Linked DNA regions of Homo sapiens: regions 1, 2, 4, 5, 6 and 7 are each linked to region 3. The links are contacts of gene promoters, found by promoter capture Hi-C in blood cells and fetal thymus (Javierre and others, 2016). All regions are on one chromosome and are shown on one strand. The core of a region is centred on a gene start or on the middle of the fragment in contact, and the rest is flanking DNA. Distances in the headings are between cores, read along the strand shown.

Evidence for each region. Contacts are between HindIII fragments. The CHiCAGO score rates a contact against its expected background, and 5 or more counts as called.
Region 1: a contact is called between a fragment that was not itself captured here and the fragment with the promoter of TSG101 in region 3, in 9 of 17 cell types (naive CD4 T cells, total CD4 T cells, naive CD8 T cells and 6 more). The highest score is 16.0, in naive CD4 T cells.
Region 2: a contact is called between a fragment that was not itself captured here and the fragment with the promoter of TSG101 in region 3, in 6 of 17 cell types (total B cells, monocytes, naive B cells and 3 more). The highest score is 7.6, in total B cells.
Region 4: a fragment that was not itself captured here is called in contact with the fragment with the promoter of TSG101 in region 3 in 6 of 17 cell types (activated CD4 T cells, naive CD4 T cells, naive CD8 T cells and 3 more); the score reaches 11.1 in activated CD4 T cells.
Region 5: a fragment that was not itself captured here is called in contact with the fragment with the promoter of TSG101 in region 3 in 1 of 17 cell types (total B cells); the score reaches 5.1 in total B cells.
Region 6: a fragment that was not itself captured here is called in contact with the fragment with the promoter of TSG101 in region 3 in 1 of 17 cell types (naive CD4 T cells); the score reaches 5.1 in naive CD4 T cells.
Region 7: a fragment that was not itself captured here is called in contact with the fragment with the promoter of TSG101 in region 3 in 1 of 17 cell types (total B cells); the score reaches 5.6 in total B cells.

What each region holds. Positions count from the first base shown.
Region 1 is chr11:18,717,740-18,720,667 of GRCh38, reverse strand. It overlaps IGSF22 (immunoglobulin superfamily member 22), which reads left to right. Exons shown (of 23, transcript NM_173588.4): 5 at 383-482; 6 at 565-604; 7 at 775-952; 8 at 1,940-2,053; 9 at 2,575-2,737. The region is part of intron 2 of IGSF22-AS1 (IGSF22 antisense RNA 1); the gene reads right to left. Among named protein-coding and RNA genes, the nearest start is that of IGSF22, 7.0 kb to the left of the region's middle. The HindIII fragment of the contact is 1,776 bases long and covers 752-2,527 here.
Region 2 is chr11:18,285,275-18,287,815 of GRCh38, reverse strand. It overlaps HPS5 (HPS5 biogenesis of lysosomal organelles complex 2 subunit 2), which reads left to right. Exons shown (of 23, transcript NM_181507.2): 18 at 126-281; 19 at 1,106-1,225; 20 at 2,357-2,470. Among named protein-coding and RNA genes, the nearest start is that of SAA1, 20 kb to the right of the region's middle. The HindIII fragment of the contact is 1,467 bases long and covers 558-2,024 here.
Region 3 is chr11:18,525,576-18,528,275 of GRCh38, reverse strand. TSG101 (tumor susceptibility 101) reads left to right here and starts at 1,334. Exons shown (of 10, transcript NM_006292.4): 1 at 1,334-1,501. The coding sequence starts at 1,460. RefSeq lists an enhancer at 1,065-1,174. The HindIII fragment of the contact is 722 bases long and covers 869-1,590 here.
Region 4 is chr11:18,737,984-18,740,876 of GRCh38, reverse strand. PTPN5 (protein tyrosine phosphatase non-receptor type 5) reads left to right here. Exons shown (of 15, transcript NM_006906.2): 8 at 85-274. It overlaps IGSF22-AS1 (IGSF22 antisense RNA 1), which reads right to left. Exons shown (of 3, transcript NR_186353.1): 3 at 1-453. Among named protein-coding and RNA genes, the nearest start is that of IGSF22, 13 kb to the right of the region's middle. The HindIII fragment of the contact is 8,092 bases long and covers 1-2,893 here.
Region 5 is chr11:18,344,204-18,346,903 of GRCh38, reverse strand. The region is part of intron 7 of GTF2H1 (general transcription factor IIH subunit 1); the gene reads right to left. Among named protein-coding and RNA genes, the nearest start is that of GTF2H1, 23 kb to the right of the region's middle. The HindIII fragment of the contact is 5,791 bases long and covers 1-2,700 here.
Region 6 is chr11:18,774,665-18,777,410 of GRCh38, reverse strand. All of the region lies in intron 1 of PTPN5 (protein tyrosine phosphatase non-receptor type 5), which reads left to right. Among named protein-coding and RNA genes, the nearest start is that of PTPN5, 16 kb to the left of the region's middle. RefSeq lists an enhancer at 1,435-1,729. The HindIII fragment of the contact is 8,027 bases long and covers 1-2,746 here.
Region 7 is chr11:18,302,018-18,304,717 of GRCh38, reverse strand. The region is part of intron 8 of HPS5 (HPS5 biogenesis of lysosomal organelles complex 2 subunit 2); the gene reads left to right. Among named protein-coding and RNA genes, the nearest start is that of HPS5, 19 kb to the left of the region's middle. The HindIII fragment of the contact is 3,514 bases long and covers 1-2,700 here.

The DNA.
Region 1 (2,928 bases), core at 390-2,889, 190 kb before region 3:
TTCCTTCTGGGGCTCAGCCCAGTGTCTGGTACAGAGGAGTAAATTGTATTAAATGAAGTCTCAGCCAGATGATGCCAGAAACTGCAGATAGAGTTACAAGGCAGGGGAAGCCCTGCCTTCTGGGAGCTCACAGCCAAGGGGGAGAGTCCGATGGAGAAGCAGACAGTTTTATTGCTATGGAATCAGGCTACAAACATGCATACTCACACTGACTGCTAGCTGGTACCTCCAAATCATACAGGCTGCTCAATCCTCCACACATATACCCAACAGTCAGTTCCTATTGTCCCCTAAAAAAAAAAAAGGCCTCCTACCTTATCTGACAGAAAGTCTCCCTGTGGTTCCTTTTCCTTCCCCCACTAATGGCCGGACTTTGATCCAGCTGGAGCCACTGACTTCGGATGACTCTGACAACTATAAGTGCATTGCAAGCAATGACCATGCAGATGCCATCTATACCGTATCTCTGCTGGTAACAGAAGGTGAGTTGGCCCCTTCCTCTTGGCCTTTCTTCTTAGGGACCAGACTCCCCCTGTCTGAACCTGTCCCTCTGTCTATCCTCAGGTCAAGAGAAAATGGACTTCAAAAAGATGCTGAAGAAGAGGTGAGGCTGGCAGGTCCTTCTGCCCAAGATATTGTCTCCTCATCCAGGCCAAAGCCTCTCAAAGGCCTCTCAACAAGGCCCTGAGTTCCAAGAATCCATGGAGTAGGGAGGGGTTTCTCAAGGTTGGAGAGGCATTGTGTACAAGCTTAGTCCCTTCCTCCTTCTCCTAGGGCACCCCCTGCTCCCAAGAAGAAGCAGAAGAAGGTGGCAAATGAGAAAGAGATGCTGGAGATTTTGTCCAAAGTGCCCAAGAAAGACTTTGAGAAGGTGTGCATGGAGTATGGTTTCACCGACTTTCGGGGGCTGCTCAGGAAGCTCAAAGAGATGAAGAAGAAAGTAGAGGTGGAGGTAAGTACCCTGCAGGGAGCAGGGGCCTGCAGGCTAGGGGCAGGGCTTCACCCAAAGTGCTAGTGCCTGTGTATTTCTCAGCAAGAAGGTCTCCCCAGTTCTGCACACACATACTCAGAGGCGTACTCTCCACTGTGAAAGCAGCAAGGGAGCACAAGTCACCTTCCTTCTACTTCTGTCTTCACCACTCCCAAACATACTTGCATGGACTTTGGAGTCAGATAGACCGAGATTCAAATCCCAGTTCTAGGCTGGGTGCAGTGGCTCACGCCTGTAATCCCAGCACTCTGGGAGGCCAAGGTGGGTGGATCACCTGAGGTCAGGAGTTTGAGACCAGCCTGGCCAACATGATGAAACCCTGTCTCTACTAAAAATACAAAAAAAACAAAAAAAAACAAAAAAAAACCGCTGGGTGTGGTGGCACACACCTGTAATCCCAGCTACTTGGGAGGCTGAAACAGGAGAATTGCTTGAACCCAGGAGGTGGAGGTTGCGGTGAGCCAAGATCACGCCACTGCACTCCAGCCTGGGTGACAGAGCAAGACTCCGTCTCAAAACAAACAAACAAACAAATCCCAGTTGTACTGCCTTATTAGCTGTGTGAACTTGGGCATCTCTCTGAGCTTCAGTTTCCTCATCTACAAAATGAAAATTATACTTCCTTCTTTCATTTGTTTTTGTGTTGTTGCTGTCATTCATTGGTTCACTCAACCAACTCATTAAGCCTCTACACTGGAATTAGGGAATCTATATAATGGGCCCAGGTACATAGTGACTATTCCATGAATGATGGTTTTTTACTCATCCCCCGTAATGTTCCTCTCCTCCTAAATCTTTCAGTTGATCACTGGAGCACTGCACGTTGTTATCTAATGAGCCTAGTCATTTCTCCCCACATGCTTAAGAGTTTCTCCAGGATTGAGGACACAGTCTGGGCAGGCTTTGGGTACCACTGACACTTGTCATTTTATTATCATAATCTCTCAGGCCATCCGGATTCTGAAGCCCCTGGAAGACAAAGAGACCAAGGTTGACACCACAGTGGTCTTTGACTGCATAATGGAACTGAAAGACCCCAATGTCAAGATGATATGGATCAAGGTGGGGGATGCCTAGCCAGGGTCCACCTTGGCAATATCTCTTCCTCTCTACCCCCTTCTCTCACTGTATATAAGCCATAGCCTCTCTTCCATCCCATCAAGAGGATGCCTCCTGGTATGGTTGAAAGAGGCTGGAATTGGGCTCTACTCTTAACTGTTTCACCCCTTTGTTGTGTGATGTAAGAGAGTCACATTCCTCTCTCTATGCCTCAGTCTACCCATCTTTAAATTGAAAGGCTAGATTAGACAGTCTTGAAGGTCACTGAAGATCTGTGCCTCTAAGGGAAAGCATCTAATGAACTCATGCATATTAAGAGCTCGGGCCTGTGAGGAGGCCTGTGGGGAGGCAGGAATCTTGGATCCCACCAAACCAGATGATGAGGCTATAGAGATCATAGGGATCTCTGTCTTTAGAGGGTTGGACATGCACCCTCCAGCTTAGGCTGGCGCTGGGGAATGGAGACCTCTGGAAGCTTCCTCCTAAAGCCCTTCATCAGCTTTCCTACCTGTTCCATGAGGCAGGGTACTGAGCCACTGAGGATCCAGTACTCCCTGGGCAAGTACGATGTGAAGCAGATGGGCACCAAGTACATGCTGGTTATTAGCAACGTGAACATGAACGATGCTGGCATCTACAGCCTGTCCGTGGGCGATAAGCGGATGAGTGCAGAGCTCACAGTGCTGGGTATGAGTGGGGGCATGCAAGGGCACAAGGAGGACATGTCGGGTTGGAAGAGAGGAATGGCCAGGGTTGGGATCCATGGGGATATTGAAGAGAGGACTATGGGACTGTGCAAGAAAGGATTGTGTGGGGATGGGAGTCAATGGAGGGAGGAAGCATCAGATGTAAGGGAGAGGACTATGAGATAATAAGTG
Region 2 (2,541 bases), core at 42-2,541, 240 kb after region 3:
TCATTTGCATATGAGGCAGCTTCTGTTAGTATATTTATTTTCATTTGTAATAAGTAACCTAAATGTAACCAAGTTATATAATTTCACTGAAATTAGAGACTAAAGTGTTTTGTTTTTAAATGCAGGTTGTATGAAAAGTTTGGGGAGTCTGCTCTTCGATCCTTAATCAAGTTCTTTCCATCCATTTTGCCATCGGATATCATACAACTTTGTCATCATCATCCTGCTGAGTTTTTGGCCTATTTAGACAGTCTGGTGAAATCAAGGCCTGAAGATCAGCGGTGAGAAGGAGAGCATATTTGCAGACTCTCCTTTCTTTTGACAGGGCATTGTTTCTCTTTTATAAGCAGGTGTCACATTGTGTACTGTTAATTACCAAGGGGTTGAGGCACATACTATGGAAGAGGAGGATTTGGGAGGCCTTGTAACATTCTGCCACATGTCACAGCACACATCACAAATGTGCATGTACCACACTTCTTCACTGCCTCTCAGGGATTCTCAGATCAGTGCAAAATTAATCCCTTGATTCAGGGCCTGAACTAAGAAGATAAGCTTCTTATTGTCTTTGCAGTGAGTAGATTCACTGCCACCTTTTTATTGACATAGATCTCAGTTCCAGCTCTTCTCTTTTTAGGCTGATGTCTGATTTTCTGTCTCCCCATGGTTGTAACACTTGTGACCTGTGCCCCTGGCTTATTAGACTAGCGGCTTCCTCCTTTCTTCTTTTGATTGGTTCACATTTGCCACAATGTTGCCCAGGCTGGATGCAGTGGCTATTCACGGGTATGATCATAGCATACTACAGCCTCAAACTTATGGCCTCAGTGATCTTCCTACTCTGGCCACACTGGTTTTTATTTGTCTCTTTCTTTCTCTCTCTCTTTCTCTCCCTTTTTTTTTTTCTTTTTTGGCCCTTTGACATTTTCTTTGTTATCTTGGAGCTTGGTCACCAGCATTTCTAGACATTTTGTAGCAGAAGAGTTTTCAAGTTATTTCTTCTTCTATATTCATCTCTTAATCAGGTTTTCTTCACACTCCCCACATTTTATGCTTCCTTTCTTAGCATGAAGATTGGTGACTTTTTTCCCCAACTTTCTCTTAGGTCATCTTTTCTTGAGTCCCTTCTGCAACCAGAGTCTTTAAGGTTGGATTGGCTGCTTTTGGCAGTGTCCCTTGATGCTCCACCAAGCACCAGCACAATGGATGATGAAGGTTATCCCAGGTACAGAAGAAGTCCTCTTTCTTTGTTTTTTTCTTTACTTTTTTTTTTTGAGACAGGATCTCACTCTGTCGCCTAGGCTGGAATGTGGTGCTAAGATCATGGCTTCCTGCAGCCTTGACCTCCTAGGCTCAGGTGATTAAACCCTTCAACCTTAGCTTCCTGAGTAGCTGGGAAGACAGGAGCACACCACTCTGCCCGGCTAATTTTTTGTACAGATGAGATTTCGCCTTATGGCCCAGGCTGGTCTCGATCTCCTGGGCTCAAGCGATCTACCTGCCTTGGCCTCACAAAGTGCTGGGATTAGAGGCGTGAGCCACTGTGCCTGGCTAGGAGTCTTATTTCTAAGGATTAAGCTCCAGTGTTCCTTTGGAATGGAACTGGTTTATTCACATATGGCATTCTGGGCTCACTTTAGAAATAGCTATGGAAGAGACTGACCCAAGTCATGGTAGTAATGAGATTAAGTATATTTCTTAGTGGTTCTGAAATTTTTTGGGGTCACCCTATAAGAATCTGATGATTCCTTTTAGAAAAATGCAGTCATGCAAAACTTTGCACAGCTGACCGCCTGCAGGTTTTTCATGGGCCCACATTAAGAGACCTTGGTGATTAAGCCTGTGAGAGGATAAAACTGGGTGTGGGGGTTAGGGAGATAGGTATGTATGTGTTTTCTTCCTAAAAATGTGTCAAGGAATTTTTAGACATAACCTGATCTAGGACTTTAAAAATAAAATAAAATTAAAGTACACACTGGTACTTGTGTCAGAACTATTGCTTGCGTTTCCTCCCAGGAGAAGCTTCTTAAAAGACCCCCAAATGCCTGTCTTATATTCCTAGCAAAAAGTCTGGAAGGATATGCAGTGGTTATCTGTGAGTGATGGAATGATAGAATTAAAAGAAGAAAAAAGAATTTATTTCTTTTGCTTTTGATTACCTAAAGTATCTAATCTTTAAAAATAAACAGGTTATAGGAAAAATAGCTATTTTTAAGTTTTCAAAAGCCAAATAGCAATGTTTTTAAAATGTAGTAATAGAATGCAGTTAAACTCTATTCTTACCTATTAGGTGATAAATAAGCATTTTCTAGAGTTTATTTCCTATCTAATTTACTGATTCCTTTTCATTTCATAGGCCTCATTCACACTTGCTTTCCTGGGGTTACAGTCAGCTGATCCTTCATCTAATTAAACTTCCTGCAGATTTTATAACCAAAGAGAAAATGACAGACATCTGCAGGTCTTGTGGGTAAGTGAGAATTTTTTAGAAACTGAAGTTAAGGTTAGAAACATTTCAGTTAACAACTTTATAGTTAAGGG
Region 3 (2,700 bases), core at 85-2,584:
CATTCCTCCAACTCACAAAGGTACAGTTGCTCTAATTAAAGGGACTCCTGGTTAAGCCGTGGCTTTAAGAACAGTTTGAAAACCTTCTTGCTTTTAAAAGACATAAAACAGCAAGTAAAATGGAAGGACAGACAGACCTCTAGTTTGGTTTGACTGGAGCTGTATGCTTAACTAAGGAGCTGAAAAACAGAGGCGGAGGTTGCAGTGAGCCGAGATGGTGCTACTGCACTCCAGCCTGGGCGATGGAGTGAGAGTGACTCAAAAAAAAAAAAAAAAGAAAAAGAAAAAGAAAAACAATACCTATTAATAGCCTTTATTTGTGCGTGTTAGCAACAGTTTATAATGATGCTTCCACATGCTTTCAGTTAGGCCCTCCTTGTGAATGTGACCTTCACTTAGACGCCAACTTTGAAGGGAATCAATACTACGGCCTTGTTCTCATTAGGGCTGTACTAAAATAATTGAAACTGTCACACATCATCAAACTCAAAATTTTACAATACCTTGAATGACACTGTGCTTACAAAACTGACGGTGATGTGTAATGATGACTAATGTAAGTCACCATGAAGAATTTTTATGGGAAGTAAAAATTCAATTAAGATGGAAGTACCTACCCTTGCATTGTGCAAGGCAATGAAGATCTGAAGGAAGCCTGCCTTCAAGGGCTTGGATTTTGACAGCGGACAGGTACACAAATACAGCACCAGGTAAAATACGGCCTGTATTATCATTTATGGGTGGGTACAGAGGAGAAATTCTGACTTACGGAATGATTTCCTGGAGAAGAAATTACTATCTGGCTTCTTGTGAAACAAAGGCTCTACACTTTACCCTTGCCAACGTATAGTATGAAGGTCTTTAAGCTTAAAAAAAATCATTAATTAGAGGACCACTGGGCATCATCTAAGGCAAGTGTATGACTTTAGAGTCGGGAGAAATTTGCGCCTGAGCTAGAAATGCACTAGCCTACCATTATCACAAGAGCAAGTCAGTGACAGAACAGTTCTCTGACCGCCAGTGCAGTGCCCTCCCACTTGATCAATCAGTCATTAAGGCTCACTGGCAAGCCCTTCGTACTTCTTCCCTCTCCGGCACTAGCTTCCTTAAGTCGACTCTGTGAAATACCTGCTAATCTTATCCTGAACCAGAGTTTCGACCCTCGGAACAGTCTTGCCCACATCTTTGGGACCCGATTCGTCCTGCTGATTCCGGCACTCGAGGGGCGGGTTGGTTGGAACCCACCCCACCAGGCCCCTCTCAATCCCACACGGTGTCCACCCTTGCCCGCAGGACGGCGGCCCGGAAGTGACGTAGTGGAAGCGGAAGTGGTGTAGTGGTGCCGACTTCCTGTTGTTTGAGGCCGGGTTGGGGGTGTGCGATTGTGTGGGACGGTCTGGGGCAGCCCAGCAGCGGCTGACCCTCTGCCTGCGGGGAAGGGAGTCGCCAGGCGGCCGTCATGGCGGTGTCGGAGAGCCAGCTCAAGAAAATGGTGTCCAAGGTGAGGCTGCGACGCGCTCGCCTCCCAGGGCGCGCCCACCGCTCCCTTCCGCGCCCTGTCGAGTCCGTCCCGGCCCAGCCAAGCAAGCTTCCCAGACGGGCCGGAAGCCCCGGTGCAGTCCTTAGCGACCTCCTCAGAACCCCGCCCCGAGGCGCCTGTCGCCTGGTGCGGGAATCCCCGTACGGGAGCTGGGAGGGTGGGGGACGGCGACAGTCAACAAAGGCGTGGAGCGGAGGCTACCTGACACCTGCCGCCCACCCGCCCTCCTCTCTTCCACTGAGTTTGGAGCTGTCTGTGGGGCAGTGTAGTTTTTCGTTTGTTTTTATAAACACAAACAAGGGATCATACTTAGTTGTAGATCTGAGGCAATCCTCTACTCCTGTCCCAATCTAGGGATCCTCCAGTCTTAGCCTTTCTTTTGCCGACCCGCAGAGAGTGTGGCCTTTTCAGTTTTGTATTCTCCAGAAAAGAAGCGAAAATACCAGTCCCTTACTGCCCCAGGTGAAATACATACCATTACCATTTCAGGGATTTTCTAAGAGTAACTACTTTTAAGTGTATGCTTCTTATAACGCGTATTTATTTGCTTTGAGCTTAATTTATGATCTTCACGGCTCAAGACTAGTGTTTTTTTTTTCAATTTTTAAAAAAGCAGTTAAGCATTTTGTATTTTAAAGCCATGATTTATTTATATAATTACTTCAAACGTGGCACCTCACACCAGAGTGGAATGGCTTTTGTTATGTTTTGTTGTAATTTTCCAAAACTATGTAAAATGATTGAGAGTTGAGTCTTGACCAGTTCAACGTGTTAGCTTGGGATAGTTTTGTCAAAGCAAGAATGGTAGCAATCAGCGGTTTAAGCGGTTTCAATTTTTAATAAAACACACTATTATGTGTAAAACTTTTTTAAAAACAGACTTTTTCCAGTTAAATCGCCCCCATAGTTCTTGATTGAAGACCAAATAATCTCTAAGGAGAAAATGACAGCTTTCAAAATAAAGCATATATTGGTTGTGTAATCGTATATTTTAGGCTTCTTGGTTTTGTTTTGATAAACTTGTTATCCTTAGTTATAGAAGACATATGGGAAGCCATAGAAGATTGTGACCCAGGTAAAGATCCATGTTGTAACTTTTATATATCACTTTTTGAAAAAAACGGTATATTGTTTTACATAGTATGTAACTGAAGAGTATC
Region 4 (2,893 bases), core at 363-2,862, 210 kb before region 3:
CCTCATTTTCCCAGCCCTGGAGACCCCAGCTCATGCCCGTCCCTCTGCCCCTGAGGCTCACACTCCCTTTCCTGGTCCTTCCAGGAGGGGTTCCAATGTCTCCCTGACCCTGGACATGTGCACTCCGGGCTGCAACGAGGAGGGCTTTGGCTATCTCATGTCCCCACGTGAGGAGTCCGCCCGCGAGTACCTGCTCAGCGCCTCCCGTGTCCTCCAAGCAGAAGAGCTTCATGAAAAGGCCCTGGACCCTTTCCTGCTGCAGGCGGAATTCTTTGTGAGTTCCCTTGAGCCGGTCGCCCCACTGTGTGCAGACCCATGTCAATCATCCACCTGCCCAGGTGGTGGAGCGTGGTGCCTGGAACTCAGCATCTGCAGTAGATTAGTATCACTTTATTATCAGCTCTCCCACCATCTTGGGCAAGCTGCTTTCCCTCTGAGCTTCAGTTTCCTCATCTGGAAAATGGGGATGAAAATAATAGAATTGTTGCAAAGATTAAAGAGACTTATAACATGTGCAGAGCACCCAGCCAGGTGATGGAGGTACAGTGACAATGCTAAGTCTTTATTGCCCAGTGCTGTGCTCTGAAAGCCACAGAGAACCTTCACTTCTAACTCTTCTGTTTTCCCACTTTCCTCCTGCCGAGCATTGTTCTTCTGCCTTTGAAATCTCTCTAGTGGCCTCCCCTCGTTACCACCCCTGGGGCCCTAGCTTAGGTCCTAATCACCTCCACCCTGGCTTCTGCAGCAGCCTCCAGCTGCCTCCTATTGGACTTTGAGGGGCTCAATAAATGGCACCCCTGTTTACCTGCCTGAGTGCTCAGCCAGTTAAGAGCTAAGGCATAGGAGATTACAATATCACCTTTGTTGTCAATAAAATACAGGTTGGAAATGTGGCTTAGCAGGGTACAGCAAGAGTGAGCCTCCCGATACTGAGACCCAGAATTACATGCACTTTCCACCCTCCACAGGGGTGCCGGCACATCTCGGACCTTGCCGCATGGGGGCACCCCTATAATTCTTTCCTGGCAGGAGGGCCCTGAGAGGAGGAGGAAGGAAGGGGCTGAGGCTCCAAAGCTCCATTCCTCAACCAAATTCACCAAACAGGTAACTCCTCACTTCTGTGAGCAGGAAAAGGCAAGAGGCCAAGAGTATCTGGGGTGAGTTCCTCCTGGTAGAAGCCACAGGGGTACAGAAGCAGGTGCCTCCTCCCTCATAGCTCCCTTCCTTTGGCCTCCGCCCTGGGCCTGTCTGGACCGGGTAGCTCTCCCCTGTGAGAAGACCTCCATCATCATCTGATCTGCTGCTCCAAGTTCTCCAGAACTTGGTACCACCTGCATACACCATCAGCACCCCTTACCTCGTGTGGCCCCAGCCTCCTTTTCCAGCCTTATGCCCCATGCCCCACCCCTGCAGGGACTGTCCACTTCAAACTGGGCCAGTCTCGTCCGTGCCTTTCTCCTCCTGTGCCTTTGCTCACATCATCACTCACTCCAGATGCCTCTAGAAAGCCTTCTTTAACCACCCCAGCCTCAGCTCCTTCTCTGAGCTCCCACTGCCATCATCTCCCCTTCGAGAAAGAATCACATCCTCTACCTCATTTCCTGTCCGGTGGGTCTTTGTTGAGGAAGGAGCGTGGCCTGAGCACCCACTCTGGGGGCAGTTTTGCACGTGTTGTATTTTTATTTTGATTTTCACAATCCTGGAAAGTGTGATGATCCTCATTTTACAAAGCCCATACTTAGTGTGTCCAAAAACAATGAACAGTGTGAAGTTAGGTGCAGTCAGGGGCTAAGCTGGTGGACAGACTGGAAGGAAATGCAGAGGCAAGAGGCATGGAGAGTCATCCCGGAAGATGTCAGGAGGAGACAGACTCATAGGTGAACTTTTTTTTTTTTTTTTTTTTTGAGACAGGGTTTCACTCTTGTTGCCCAGGCTGGAGTGCAGTGGTGCGATCTTGTCTCACTGCAACCTCCGCCTTCCAGTTCCAAGCGATTCTCCTGCCTCAGCCTCCCTAGTGGCTGGGATTACAGGGGCCCGCCACCAGGTCCAGCTAATTTTTGTATTCTTATTAGAGATGGGGTTTCAACATGTTGGCCAGGGTGGTCTCAAACTCCTGACTTTGTGATCCGCCTGCCTCGGCCTCCCAAAGTGCTGAGATTACAGGCGTGAGCCACCGCGCCCGGGCAGAGGTGAACTTTAAAGGGTGGGAACAACTTGGAGAGATGGGGGTAGGGGAGACCAGCGCCCTCAGGAGGCAGAACGTCACAAGCTCAGACTCAGAGGCAGGACTGAGAACAGCAGATTAACAACAGGGGAGAAACAGGCCTAACTGGAAGTAAAGAGAGGCCAGATTCAAGAAGCCCTCACATGCCAGGAGAGAAGTTCAGACTCAGAGCTCTGGACACAGACAGTGGTTGGGAGGTGCAGATATTCCTGGGATCTCAGAAAGAGGCTTCTCTCCTTCTGGAGAATCAGGGAAGGCTTCTCAGAGGAGGCGGGACATGAGATGAGGATGGGGTGTGTGTTACCACAGAGCAAGCAGCACGAACCTAGGTCCCGAGATAGGGATGCCCAGGGAGGAATGCTGCCCAGGGAGCATGGAAGAAGGCAGCCATTGGCCAGGTCACTTTTTGTCTTTTTCTTCATTCATCAGCTATTTATTGACTGTCTATATATGGCAGGCTGGCTCTCCATAAACAATAGTCATTATCATATTTATTACACACTCAGCATGTGCCAGGCACTGTTCTGAATGCGTCGTGAGCACTAACTCTCTTAATAGTAAATGTTTGTTGAATGAATGCGTGCACTCAAGCCAGCCCCTGGGCTAGGAGTTGGGGGCACAGCAGCCCCTGGATTCAAACATCTGTGAGGGCCCATAGCTGCTCACACC
Region 5 (2,700 bases), core at 82-2,581, 180 kb after region 3:
GCCAGGTATGGTGGCACACACCTGTAATCCCAGCTGTTGGGGAGGCTGAGTGAGGCAGGAGAATCACTTGAACCCAGGAGGCAGAGGTGGCAGTGAGCTGAGATTGCACCACTGCACTCCAGCCTGGGTGACAGAGTGAGACTGTCTCAAAAAAAAAAAAAAAAAAAAAAGTAAATAAAAAGAATAGAATATAGTGAGAAAAACACTGACTATGGATTCAGAAAGATAAAGAGTCAAATTCTTTTTCTAACGTTAATCTAGGCAAGATAAACTTTTCCAAGCTCTATAAAGTAGGATAAAAGAGAATAAAATGAGATTATATTTTAAAACATGTATTGAGTGCACGCTACTTGCTAGACCATGTAGATACAAAATTGATTAAGACCCCATGCCATAGGAGCTTAAATACTAGTTAGTGGGAAGCTGGGCTGGAGAGAATTACTAATCAATCCTACTGGAGAAGAGGGTTCGAAAAAGGTTCACAGAGAACCATAAGATAAACTGGTGCTTGCCAAGTAGATCGGAGACAATAACATTTCAGGGAGAGGAAACTGCTTAAACAAAGGCAAAGAGGCACTGTGGTCCTGATTATTTGGGAGGTTGAGGCAGAAGAACTGTTGAGCCGAAGAGTTCAAGTCCAGCCTGGCAACACAGTGAGACCTTGTCTCTATTTAAAAATAAAACAAAACACAAGCAAAGCAGCAATGTAGTACATATTGTGTCATGAGACTGTATATGGTTCAATACACTAATAACGGTGGTCCAGGAATTGGTGAGGCTAAAAAGGTGAAAGAAAGATCATGAGACTCATATGGGCCAGGCGTGGTGGCTTACGCCTGTAATCCCAACACTTTGGGAGGCTGAGGCGGGTGGATCATGAGGTCAGGAGATCGAGGCCATCCTGGCTAACACGGTGAAATCCTTTCCGTACTAAAAATACAAAAAATTAGCCGGGCGAGGTGGCGGACGCCTGTAGTCCCAGCTACTCAGGAGGCTGAGGCAGGAGAATGGCATGAACCCCAGGGGGCAGAGCCTGCAGTGAGCCGAGATGGTGCTACTGCACTCTAGCCTGGGTGACAGCAAGACTCCGTCTCAAAAAAAAAAAAACTCATATGTGCTGGGTGTGGTGGCTCACGCCTGTAATCCCACCACTTTGGGAGGCTGAGGTGGGTGGGTCACCTGAGGTTGGGAATTCAAGACCAGTCTGGTCGTGGTGAAACCCTGTACTAAAAATACAAAAATTAGCTGGGCGTGGTGTGTGCCTATGATCCCACCTACTCAGGAAGCTGAGGGAGGAGAAGTGCTTGAACTCGGGAGGCAGAGATTGCAGTGAGCTGAGATCACGCCACTGAACTCCAGCCTGGGCAAAAGGGCACGACTCCATCTCAAAAAAAAAAAAAAAAAGATCCATATGCTGTTCATCAATGTATCAAATAATTACTAAGTGATTATTACTACATGACATGCGCTAGGAACAGGCCAATAAACAGAACAAAGTCAGCTTCATGAAGATTACACTCTGAGAGGAGTGTGAATGCAATTATCAAGTAAAACAAGGTAAACACAATATTTTTTGAAAGTGGAAAATGTCATTGAATAAAACAGAGGGTAACATGATGAAGTGACTGAATTTGTGGGTGGTTAGAGAAAGCCTCTCTGAAGCACGCAACTTTTTAATTTTTAATTTTTAAATTTATATTTTTATTTTTTTTTGAGACAGGTTCTCGCTCTGTTGCCCAGGCTGGAGTGCAGTGGTGCAATCGCAGTTCACTGCAGCCTTGACCTCCTGGGCTCAAGTGATCCTCCTACCTTAGCCTCCCGAGTAGCTGGGACTGCAAGTGTATACCACTATGCCCAGCTAATTTTTAAATTAAAAAAAAAAAAAGTTTAGAGATGTGGTCTCACAATGGACTCAAACGATCCTCCCACCTCAGCCTCCCAAAGTGCTAGGATTAAAGGCATGAGCCACCCCACCTGGCGAGAAATGACATTAGAACAGGTATCTAAAGATAGGCAGAAGCTGGTTAGGGAACAAGCAGGTAGAAGATCAGTTAAGTGCATAGGCCCTGAGGTAGAAAAAGCGTGGCATGGAAGTGAATGGTCATTATGTCTAAAGCATGAATGAGTAGAAGTGGCCCCAACTGAGAAGTATGCAGGAGCCAAATCTAGCAGTCTTGTAGGAGTTTTGATTTTATTCTAAGCTCAATGAGAAGATAATGAAGAGATTCACATAGGGGATTATTAGGATCTGATTTATATTATAATCCTTTTTTTTTTTTTTTTTTTTGAGACAGTCTCACTCTGTCACTCAGGCAGGAGTGCAGTGGTGCAATCTTAGCTCACTGCAGCCTCTGCCTCCCCGGTTCCAGCGACTCTCCTGCCTCAGCCTCCTGGGTAGCTGGAATTACAGGCATGTGCCGCCAGGCCCGGCTAATTTTTGTATTTTTAGTGGAGATGGGGTTTCACCATGTTGGCCAGGCTGGTCTCAAACTCCTGACCTCAGGTGATCCACCCACCTTGGCGTCCCAAAGTGCTCGATCACAGGCACGAGCCACCACGCCCGGCCTATATTATAATTATTACTGCTAGGGGAGAATAAACTATAAAAGACAAGATAGCAAAAATAAAGGTTAGAAGGCTAAGGCAAGCAAACAGGCCAAAGATGATGATACCGTAAACATGAAAGGGTGTAAGCGTTTG
Region 6 (2,746 bases), core at 144-2,643, 250 kb before region 3:
CATTTTCCATGCATCTCATGTAAAAACTTTGTGTGAAGATCAACATTCATTTAATCTCCATTATAACCCTCTGGAGTGTAGACACATTTATCCTTGCTTCACAGATGAAGAAACTGAGGCACAGAGAAGTCAAAATCTTGCCCAAGATCAGGCAGCCAGTGGGGGAGCCTTGATTCATACTGGGGGAGTCCAGAGCCAAAGCCTATGTGTTTACTACTTTTATGGTGTTGTTTGTTTGTTTGTTTGTTTTGAGATGGAGTCTCATTCTGTCGCCCAGGCTGGAGTGCTGTGGCACAATCTTGGCTCACTGCAACTTCCGCCTCTCTGGTTCAAGTGATTCTCCTGCCTCAGCCTCCCAAGTAGCTGGGATTACAGGCGCCCGCCACCACGCCCGGCTAATTTTGTATTTTTAGTAGAGACAGGGTTTCACCATGTTAGTCAGGCTGGTCTCAAACTTCTTACATCAGGTGATCTGCCCACCTCGGCCTCCCAAAGTTCTGGGATTACAGGCATGAGCCACCGTGCCTGGCCCTTTATGGTGTTTTTAATGAGCCATTTGTAAATGCTCAAACATTACCCCACTTTTCATTTTTTTTAACATTTGCCTGGTGCCAGATACAGTATTGGACATGGGAAGCAGAAAAGTCCATATCAGATGCTGTAAACCTAGTGATTTAAATAAAGCCTGGGGTTGAGATAAACTGAGTTTGAAGCCTGGTTCTGCAACATACCAACTATATGACCTTGAGCAGGTGACTTAGTGTCTCCAAGTCCCAATCTCCACGTGTAGGTGGAGGATGACTTTTTACCTCATATGGTTCTAGTGAGAGGTGAATGATGTCATACGTGTGCAGTGCTTGGCACGACATCCAGCACACAATAAGCCTGCAATAAAAGGAAGCTGCGGTAATCACAGACCACAGGTTTATGTCCAGGGAGCTCTGTGTGAGGCTGGGAGACTGGCATCAACAGATAATGACCGTATGGAGGGGTAAGAACAGAAGACGGAGTACCCAGTTCTTCCTAAGGGAGTTGGGGAGGGTTCTATTGAGGAGGTGACATTTGAACAGAGTCTTAAAAGGCAAATAAGAATTTTCCAAGCAGAGAAGGGAAAAGGGGGCTTTCCAGTGGAGGAAAAAGTGCATCCTAAAGCATTATAGGTAGGAGCAAGCATGTAACTGAACGGAAATACCAGAAGACGCCCACAAGAAGTGTGATCACACCTTTGCATTTGTGATTGCCTGTTTTCTCCCGGTAAATTAAACTGCATACCTGGGGGCAGGTGCAGGGAGAGGGAGCAGAATGCAATGTTTTCAGAGTCTTGGAGAACAGAGGATCAGACCGGATAACCTTTGAACTCCAAAATCCTGCCTTTCTATCTTTTGGGTCCGTGACCGCCGCACCATTTATAATCAGGTAGGACCATCCACAGCATCAAATCACAGCTGAACCTGGACTCTCTTAATAATTGGCTCAGGCCGGACATGCTTGCAGGTTGGGCTCCATGGACCAAGGCCTGTTTCCCTGATGCTGTGAGCGCCCTCTGCTGGTTCACTGCCGTTCCACCCTCTGCCTCGTTAAACCTGACAGGCCTGGAATTGAAGCCTGACCTCTAAGGAAAGGCCCTTAGAGGTCATCTCATTCAGGCCCTTTGGTTTTCATTTGGAGCTACTGAGATTCAGATAAGGGAAATGACTAGCCCAAGGTCACACAGTAGCCTGGGACTAGAGCCCATGGCTTCTGGGCCCTGGGCCAGTGAGTGTATTCGTCATGGCACTGATGGAACACAGCTGCCACCAACACAGGCTCCCCACCCAAGCCAGCCTCCCAAACTCCCCATGCAAGCTAGCCTCCCAAGGCCTGCTTCCTGGGCTGTTGCTTCAAGTGGAGAAACCCGAGGTCGTGGTCCCGCGCAGGACTTCCAGTCGTTCTTCTGGGGAGAACAGCAGTGATCCCAAGCAAGGACACAGGCACAGGGATCTCCCTCTTGCTCCTTCACTCGTTTGCTTGGGTCACTTCACCCCCTGAGCCTTAGTTTTCTCGTCTGTAAAAATGGTGATCATCACATGCTACTCACATAGATTTATGGTGAGGATTTTTTAAAAGAACATATAGAAAGCAACTGCCATGATATGCTGTCTCTTCCTATTGTATTTGCGGAATATTTTTTCTTACCAAAAGCTAAAAAGTGAAAGAGAGGTTAGGAATGTGGGCAATGGGGGAAGTTCTGTGATAACTAGCTGTGTGGCCTTAGGCAGGTCACTTTACTTCTCTGAATTTCCATTTCCGCCTTTAGAAAATGCAGGAAACGTTAGTACGTTCCTCCAGGGGCTGCTGTGAGGACTGAGTTTGCTAACACCTGCCCTGGAGCAGTTCCTGGCCTGTGTGGTCCGGGTGCAGTAGTGACAGCTGCCCTTTCTGTTGTGAAGATACTGTCATTGTTATCCTCTTCGGTCGGGAGCTAAGATGTTACTGAACAGGTGGTCCGAAGATTGCTTCTGCCCTTTTTCCTGCTTCCTTTCTCTCTCAGATCACCTCCTCCTGTTCCCTTCCATCCTCACCAACCTGACCATGAAATTTTAAAAGTGTAGATTTTAAAAGAAAGCCAAAGTGGCCCTGAGAAGAGGCTGGGAGGGTCCACAGAGTCTGAGCTGAATCACTGTGAATTTCTGACCCTCCACCCCAAAGATGTATTTAGGACAGAATGTGTTGGCTTCAATCATGAGCCCCTGGTCTCTCTCAATGC
Region 7 (2,700 bases), core at 199-2,698, 220 kb after region 3:
AATTCAGCAAATATTGTATGAAGTTGTCATATGGTACACTGGAGTGTGAACACCTGATTCAGTTCTTTGAAAGGCTAACTAACCACTCTTTGTGATTTTTAAAAATAATTGAAGTGTTAACTAATTGCCTCTAAGGGTAAGGATAAAAACCAGTTCATGTATTTGTCATACTTCCTACACTGAAGTATTTAAAAGTGAATTATAAGGCCGGGTGTGGCTCATGCCTGTAATCCCAGCAATTTGGGAGACCGAGGCGGACAGATCTTCTGAGGTCGGGAGTTCAAGACTAGCCTATCAACATGGAGAAACCCCGTCTCTACTAAAAATACAAAAATTAGCCAGGCATAGTGGCATGCTCCTGTAATCCCAGCTAGTAGGGAGGCTGAGGCAGGAGAATCGCTTGAACCTGGAAGGTAGAGGTTGCAGTGAGCCGAGATCGTGCCATTGCACTCCAGCCTGGGCCACAGAGCAAGACTCTGTCTCAAAAAAAAAAAAAAAAAAGTGAATTATAGACATTATAACACTTTAGTAACTCCATAATTCTTCATGAAAGTTACTAGAGAAAGACATTTATTTATTTACCCATAATTAGATAAAGCATATTAAAAACTCTTCCTCCTTTAGCATTCTTCCTTTGTGGCACTTGTCACAGTTTATAATTACATATTAATATAATATTTATACATGTCTTACCCTAAACAGTAAGCTCCATGAGGGCTTTATTTCTGTTTTGTTGACTATTATTTTTTCAATGCTTGGCCTAATGCCTGGCACATGATAGATACTTAATAAATATTTGTTGACTATGATGTGATGTGCGGGGTATTGGGAAGTCCCTTACCCAAGTTTTTTTTTTTTTTTTTAGAGACGGAGTCTTGCTCTGTCACCCACATTGGAGTGCAGTGGTGCGATCTTAGCTCACTGCAGCCTCTGCCTCCCAGGTTCTAGCAATTCTCCTGCCTCAGCCTTCCAAGTAGCTGGGACTCACAGGCGCACGCCACCACGCCTGGCTAATTTTTTGTATTTTAGTAGGGATGGGGTTTCACCATGTTGCCCAGGCTGGTCTCGAACTCCTGAGCTCAGGCAATCCACCTGCATCGGCTTCCCAAAGTACCCAAGAATATGTTTTCTAGTAGTCGGGCCACAATACACTTAGCTCTCCTGGTAGAGTTATTCTTTTGGCTGTAGCTATTTAAAGCTGCTGTTATAGTCCCTACCATGGTAGACAAAAAGCCTTTGATGATCTGGCTCTGCCTATTCCTCAGCTAAAGCAACAATTAACGCCACTTTGAAACTTCTGCTGATTCCTCAAAGAGGCTTACGTTAGACAACCTATTTCTGTGCATGTACTGTTGTCAAACCATATTCATTCCTTTATCATTGCCACTGTCTTACTGTATTATGAGTATGCATCCCAGCATCAGATTGTCAACTCCTTTTCATGGGCAGTGCTAGACACATAGAAAACCCTCAAATGATAGTGAATTCAACAAAGAGTTTTTTCGAAAACATGAAGAGGAGGGCTTCTTTTCATTCCTGTTTGTTTATGTTTTTCATTCGTACACTGTGCCCTATGGGACTTTTACTGTTGCAACCCATAAATCCCAGAGGGGGCATCCTTATGTACTTTGTTTCCTTTCAGGCACATTCCTTTCTGGAACTTCTAAAACAATGCTGTTAGGCTTATGTCCCCATTTATTATCAGTGAAGGGATAAGGGGACAAGGAATGTATAAATTACAAGTATCAGCTTTTATCTAAGTTCCCGTCCTCAGCCCCCCATCTAATCTAGGTTGCTATTCCTAAGGAATTTTCCAAGCTGAATGTCAGGTTCAGTATCAAAATTATGATCCTGTATCTCTTTCTCAGGGATCCTCTGACACCCCCCCCCCCCCCGCTTTTTTTCTCCTTTGACTCTTGAAGGCAGCCTTCTCAATTTTACTTTGGATTCAGATTCTGACCATTTCTTGCATTTTATGACAAAGATTACTTTCCTGTAGGGATAGTGATCTGGTCTTTCATATTGACAAAATGTTTAACACTTACATGAGGGCCCAACTCCTGTTAAAAATCAATTAGTTTCATAGCCACATGGAACCATTTTTAGTACTCTTGGAAACATAAAGGAAAAAGAAATATAGTCCCTGTTCTTCAGAGTATAATTTATTAGAGAGATATGATTTATTTGTCCAAAAAGTTTAACAACAATAAGAAGTAAGAGTTGTGACAGTGCAGTAGATGATTAAGTGCCATATGAGCAGAGTATAAGAAATAGGTTGAGTGCAAGAAATAGGGTGAGTGTTGTGGGCTGTAAGGGAGGATTTCAGAGGGAAGTAGAACTTCTGATCCTTGAGAGGTGGCTAGATTAAGAACATTGTAAGTTGGAGAATGTCCTGAACAGCATTAGGAAGTGGAGATTACCAGTGGTATATAAAAAATAGTAGCAGCCTTGAGAGAATAAATGAAATATATGAGATAAATTTATATGAGTAAGTATAGAAAAAGATGAGGAGAAAAAAATGAGTCCTCCAGACCAGAGGACTGGAGAGAAAGAGAACCAAGAAAATGCAGTGTCCAGGAGCCCCAGGAGGTGAGGTTCAAGAAGCAGAGAACAGTTAGCAGGGTTGGCTTCTGCTTGGGGTTAAGAAAATGGGAAGTGATGAAGGGTTATTGGGTTTGGCAGTTTGGGAATCTGTGACTT